Linked DNA regions of Homo sapiens: region 1 is linked to region 2. The links are contacts of gene promoters, found by promoter capture Hi-C in human tissues and cell types (Jung and others, 2019). All regions are on one chromosome and are shown on one strand. Each heading gives the region's core, a stretch centred on a gene start or on the middle of the fragment in contact. The rest is flanking DNA. Distances are from core to core; before and after follow the strand shown.

Region 1 (2,959 bases), core at 263-2,762, 280 kb after region 2:
GGTTTGCTAGAGGTTTGAATAATCCTCATGGCACAGTGAACTTTTGGTTTAACTACTGGAATGTTCAGTCAAAACCAACATGTTGCACACTCAGCTTTTTTTTTTTTTTTTTGAGACAGAGTCTCGCTCTGTTGCCCAGGCTGGAGTGCAGTGGCGCGATCTCCGCTCACTGCAAGCTCCACCTCCCGGGTTCATGCCATTCTCCTGACTCAGCCTCCCGAGTAGCTGGGATTACAGGCGCCCGCCACCATGCTCGGCTAATTTTCTGTATTTTTTTTTTTTTCAGTAGAGACAGGGTTTCACTGTGTTTGCCAGGATGGTCTCAATCTCCTGACCTCATGATCTGCCCGCCTCGGCCTCCCAACGTGCTGGGATTACAGGCGTGGGCTACCGTGCCCTGCCTACACACTCAGCTTTTAAGAGAAAAAGCAAAACACAAGAAAATAAATTCATATCAGGAGTTTTATATAAGTAGGATTTCCTGGGATATGGTCTGAGGTCAGTAAACACCTTGTATGTATGTAGGCTTGATATTTTTATTCATTCAACAAATATTTATTGAGCATCTACTATATGCCAGGAATTGTTCTAGGCTCTGGAGACACAAGAGTGAGCAAAAGAGAAAAAAATCCATGCCTTTGTGTAGCTTCGCTTTTATTGAAGGGAGAAAGATAATAAATGAATTATTAGGTAAAATATGGAGTTACGTTGTGTGATGAAATCACTCACTGGGGAAGCAATAGTTCAGGATTCTTTTCTTCTGAGTTTGTTCTAGTTGGAGACTTAGGAGTTGGTGGTGTGGTAGAGACACGTTTTCTCTGGGCTCCAGTAGTAACTTATTTCTCTACTGTGGGTATCAATGACTCTGAATTTTCTACTGAACTACAGATAGCTGCCTCACCAGAATTTGAACTTCTCTAGATAAGAACTGTTTCTTTTATCTTTATATCTTTGGTGCCTAGAATATGTGCCCATTTTTCATGAAATACCTTCCACTGGTTTCTGAGAATCCATACTTCCTCTAGACTTTTTTCTATTTTCTTCCAACTTTTGGTAGCCCCACAGCTTTTTTGCAACCACTTTTCTTCTGCCCAAGCCTAAAATGTGATGATTATCAGAGTTCCAGCCAATCCTTTATGGATTCTAATTATCTCTCAATGATATTCCTATAGCTTTAATTCCCAGCTAGATATTTACAACCTCCCAAACTACTTTTGCAGCCCGGACTTCTCTCTGGATGCTAGAGAACCAGGCTCTTCTATCCAAGCAGACTTATGATCAGCAGGACCTGAATGTCCTACAAACCTCTCAGAGTCTTCATATTTGAAGCAAATGGTCATCATCCCTCCCTCAACTTGCTCTATGCCCAATGTTTCTGACTTCAGTGAATGGCATCAGAAGTGACCTAAGCCAGAAGCTTCTCTCTTTTTTTTCTTTGACTCCTCATTTCCTCCCCTTTCCCTAAAACAAGCCAATTGTTCAACTCCTTTAGATTCTACCTCACTAACATATTTTAAATCTCTGTCCATTTTTTTCAATTCCTATGACCACACCTCAGTTTAGCCCATAGTCATATGGTATCTAAATTACTTGCCACAGCCTCATTCAATGACACACATGTACTGACTATATCATGTACCTAGATCCTGGGTAGCAAAAATAGAAGCCCGTGCTCCTTTGGGGATGTTGGTGTGATAACTCCTCTTTGGTTTCCCTACCTGTAATATTGTCTCACTCAAACTCATTTTTTTAAACTGTAGATAGAGTGATTTGTCTAAATCCAAATCTGATCATGTTAGTTCCCTGCATAAAATTCTTCAAATCCTTTAATTTGTCTTCACTCTTCTCAGGAAAACCCTCAAATTTCTTAGCATGAAATCCAAGGAAGGCCCCTTATAATATGAACCATTATTCTTTCTCTAGATTAATCTTTTGCACTAATTCCAAATGCCACATTACAGCACACAAAGCCACTTGAAGTTTCCCCAAATGGTATGCTGTCTTACCTCCACAGAAAACATGTAGTTTTCTATGACTAAAGAAAAATCTTCCATCTGAATATAGACACACATCAAGCTTCCCTTTCTCCAGTTGTTCCTCTTTACTCCAAGACAAACCTCACTGTGCCACCATCCTGCTCCTTCCTTAACACTAGACTGATACCAGGCCTTAGTCTACCAAGAGTGTAGAAATAGGTAGTCTCTTGATTATATGACAGACAGAAAATACCCGTGGAGTTTTACATAACATATCTCCTAATCTGATGGATTATGGAATGTGAATGATTCTTCTGTCTTTGGAGATCATAAAATGGACAGAGCTACAAAGAACTACAAAGTGTTTAGAACAACACTTTTCCAACTAGAATAGAGATAATGCATTCCAGAACACTGCAGCTTGCATAATTATCTTTCTAGGCAATAAGTACTTGTCTGAAGTAAGAACCATAATATCATAATCCAACCCCTATGCTCCTGTTTCAACCTGAAGCCACACCCTTTTCATGAACTCAGTCAGCCATCAGTTGTCAATGTCCACTTATGCTCCATCCAAGCCCTTTCCCTGCTACTCCTGGAGAGGACCTCAATATCAGCTAGGGGAGCTGGAAGACTATGCTTAGGGATTTTTTTGTAACTGCTTTGACACAGACTTTATATGTTTAAAGGAAATGAACATCTTTGCATTGCCTTCATTCACCAAATGATGTCTTCTATCCATGCATGCTGCCCTAGTCACGAGAGTGGGTTGCATGTAACATACTTGTGATTCCATGAAGAGTGGGCACAGGGGAGTGCTGGTCAGGCTAAAGTTTGGGACAGATGAAGATGATATTAGGAGAAGAAGAAAATAACTTCTGCTCACCACCATCAAAGATGAGTTTCCCATGAGTATATATTTTTTTCCTTTGGGCATCAAATGGCCTCCTTTGGCTTAAACTTTAACTTATATGAAATGATTT
Region 2 (3,316 bases), core at 477-2,976:
CAAAGAAAAATATATACGAAATGTTGCAACAAGAAGACTGAAAAAGGGAAAAAGATTTTTCTCTGTTTTCCCTACCTTGTTAACAATATCTTCCTTGTTCAGCATGCCAAGAGTGAGGTTAATATCCCCAAACATCTCTAAAACGTACAGAAAAATATGAATTGAAATATATGCTGAAATGCCCTCCTGTTAATTATTTTGTAATCAACACAGAAAGTTCATTCATTCATTTATCCTCTCTCTCTCTCTCTCCCTTGACTGCTAGCTCTTTGATGGCAGGAACTGTTTTATTCATATCCATGACATAAATGAAACTAGCAGATGCTAAGTTATTATTATTTTTGAAACCTGAATCAAATGTGAAAGGGAAGATAAAAGATGCCGGATTCCTATGTATCCCTCCAGGCAAGTGGGCATTGCCTTGTAAATTCTCTCTTGCAGGATTTAGCTCTCAGAGTCAATGAGGTGAATTTCTCACTCCTGACTTAAGCATTAGAAGGCAGGGGTGCAACATAGCTGTTTATTTTTCACTGGTCCTCCCCTCAATACCTCTCCCATCTTCTTTTTCCATACCCTTTTCAACTCCACCTATTCTCCTGTGCCTGCCAACTCCCTCTTTTGGTCACATGCTAATGAAGGCTTCCTGTTTTCTGACAATGACCTAAATGTGTTTGACTTGCATTTTCTAGGAATATATGTTTTTGAATAAAGCACTCTAGAAAACTGGAAAAAAAATTGAGTCAAAGGAATTGAGCAATTTCAAGCTACATGGCAAGTTGGTAGGAGAAATACTTTTGGAGATGAAGATTTCTTATTAACCTCCACACCAAACAACATACTCATTTAGGGCAATCTTTTTGGCAAAGTAGAAAGGCAGCCATACCTGGAAATTGGGAGAAATACTTCCAAAGGACTCTTCTAGTATTTAAAATTAAATAACAAACTGCCTTTCTTTGATATGTAGCCACTTTCTCCTCAGGTAGACTCTAAATTTTAAAGCACAACCATCTCTTAGGCTTCCAGTCTATTATTGGTCCTTCACAATCAGCATGATTTTATTATGTATTTAGCATACCATTTCATAAATCCTTTGAGGTGTACAGTCCTCCCACAATGACGCGCCACTCCCAGCCCTCATATATACTTATAATTCCACAGAAACAAAACACAGGGAAGAGCCTTGGCTTCTCAGGATCTGATGATGCTTACCTATGGATTCCTCTGTACTAAGTGTCATGTCTTGGCTGTTTCAGGGTCTCTAAAAGATAGCACCTAAGTATTAGAAATAGTAAGGCTAAAAAATCAAAGAGGCAGGTTGGCAAGTTTCTCATATAAGGTTCACATAAGCCTCTCTAAATGAAAGTGCCTCCTCCACTTGATTGGCACAATGGTCTGGGAGCTTCCAGAGATGGGCTTGCTGTTGAAGTTGATACTGTATTCTACCACTATGACATTGTCTTGCGTCTGAACTCCTGCTAACCAACAAAATGGCTGCATCTCACCAAATATTGTCCCTTTGGTGACCAGAGTATTTGGGAAAGAAGTAATTAGAGACTGGGATTCAAACCATTGTTGCAGACCAAAGGTGCTCCTCTCCCTAAACTTGAGTCCATTGATCACAAATTCAGGAATGGTTTTCAGTAGTTGCTTTACTGTCCTGATGTTGGGAAAGGCTTTATGGTGAACTCGTTGATTGTTACACTTAGTGAAAATCAGTCATATGAACTGAGCATGCTCAGTGGACTGGAATGCACTTCAGGGGCAGTTGGATGGAATGTCCAACTGACAGCAGCAAAGTGAAGACCTCTCTACCTCCCTCTCCATTAATTCCTCCCTGGCATGTTCAGGATCTTGGCCTCACTCCAGGCTCAGGCTTTTTCTCTGTCTTCAGCTTTCTTTTTGTTTTCAAATTATTTTTTATCTAGATCAATTTTCCATAATGTTTTCAACTTATCTAGCATGAATTGAAATCTGGTCCCCAACTATAAATCTATGTGATGACAATCTTCAATATATGTCCAGACTCTATGTGAATATGGAGGATGATAGAGAAAGGGAAGGCAGTACTGCTAGTCTATAGGGCTAAATGTAGAATGGGCTGAGGAGGGGAGCTCATGACAATTTTCATCTGCTGCTGCTTTTTTGGCCATCTTAACTTCATCGGTGAAGCTTATTCCAGATTCAAAGGTCAACTGCTTCCAACTAAACCTTTGAATTCATCATTCTTCTCATAGACATTTTGCACTGTATTAAAGAGATCCTCAACATTTTCCGCTTCCCAAGTCAGCATCACTTTCAGAGTTTTGTCTCCAGGTGACTTTATCATGGGATTTACTTGGTATCCTTATTTAAAATGTGAATTCCCAGGCCCCACTTCAGACCCAGTAAATTAGAATGAGGGGGCAGCAATCTATATATTTAATGTGCGCCCCTGGTGATTCTTAGGTTCACTGAACTTTGAAAAGCACTGACCAAGGTCCTTGCCCAAACATTCATTAGTGGATCAGTAAATAGCAGTTAACTGAAGAATGTTTGTTGTGGTTGGGCAAGGAGCTCTTCCCCAGCATCATGACTCACTGAAGAATAGGCCAAGTTTGGTTAGTCAGGGAGGTACTGGGGTGATTAGAGGCATCCCGAAACTCTTAACATCTATAAGATGTTAAGTCTACTTGTAGTAAATAAAACAACAGATTCCCTATAAGGGAAAAAATGATGTTAGAAATTATGTGCTCTTAGAGTCTTAAAAAACAATGTACAGCAGAATCAATAATAAGAAAGCTAGCCATTTAGGTAATTGTTACAACCATTTTCTTAATATTTTTGTGAATGGTGACAAATGATTTTTCTGTATGTCTGTATATAAAGACTTCCTTGATTTCATAGAGATTAGAGAAGTTAGGAGATAATTGATTTATTTTGACTTTTAATTTATTCATCGCTGCAATCAAAACACAACTTTTTGCTAAAATCCTTTCAGACAAAGTAAATTCACTCATTGAAACCAATACTGCAGATAGTTTTAAAATCCCCAAATCCTCAAAATAGCTGATTTGCTGTCATTTTATTTCATTTTTCAGTCGCCTGCTTGTTACATCTTCCCATTATTTCTTCCTCTTCTCATTGCATGAGGCTAACACAATATGGATTTGATTTCTCTAAGACTCTAAGAGGATCCTAAACACGAATTCTCAAAGTGAATAGGATGGCATGTGCTAACTAATTAAGTACTGTTTCTAGATATTTGTGAGGGAGCCTAAATCTAGCCTGCTAAGGAATTAGAGTGTCTCACTGGATATGTGGTAGCCATCCCCTTTCA

Evidence for each region. The method cuts DNA at HindIII sites, captures the fragments that hold promoters and counts their contacts. A contact is called where the count stands out against the background at its distance.
Region 1: a fragment that was not itself captured here is called in contact with the fragment with the promoter of MROH2B in region 2 in 2 of the 25 tissues and cell types used here (dorsolateral prefrontal cortex and stomach).

The regions. Positions count from the first base shown.
Region 1 is chr5:41,352,999-41,355,957 of GRCh38, forward strand. The region is part of intron 2 of PLCXD3 (phosphatidylinositol specific phospholipase C X domain containing 3); the gene reads right to left. Among named protein-coding and RNA genes, the nearest start is that of C6, 140 kb to the left of the region's middle. The HindIII fragment of the contact is 3,710 bases long and covers 1-2,959 here.
Region 2 is chr5:41,069,616-41,072,931 of GRCh38, forward strand. MROH2B (maestro heat like repeat family member 2B) reads right to left here and starts at 1,727. Exons shown (of 42, transcript NM_173489.5): 1 at 1,210-1,727; 2 at 76-137. The coding sequence starts at 1,237. LOC105374739 (a long non-coding RNA gene) reads left to right here and starts at 1,742. Exons shown (of 6, transcript XR_001742650.2): 1 at 1,742-2,313. The HindIII fragment of the contact is 9,443 bases long and covers 1-3,316 here.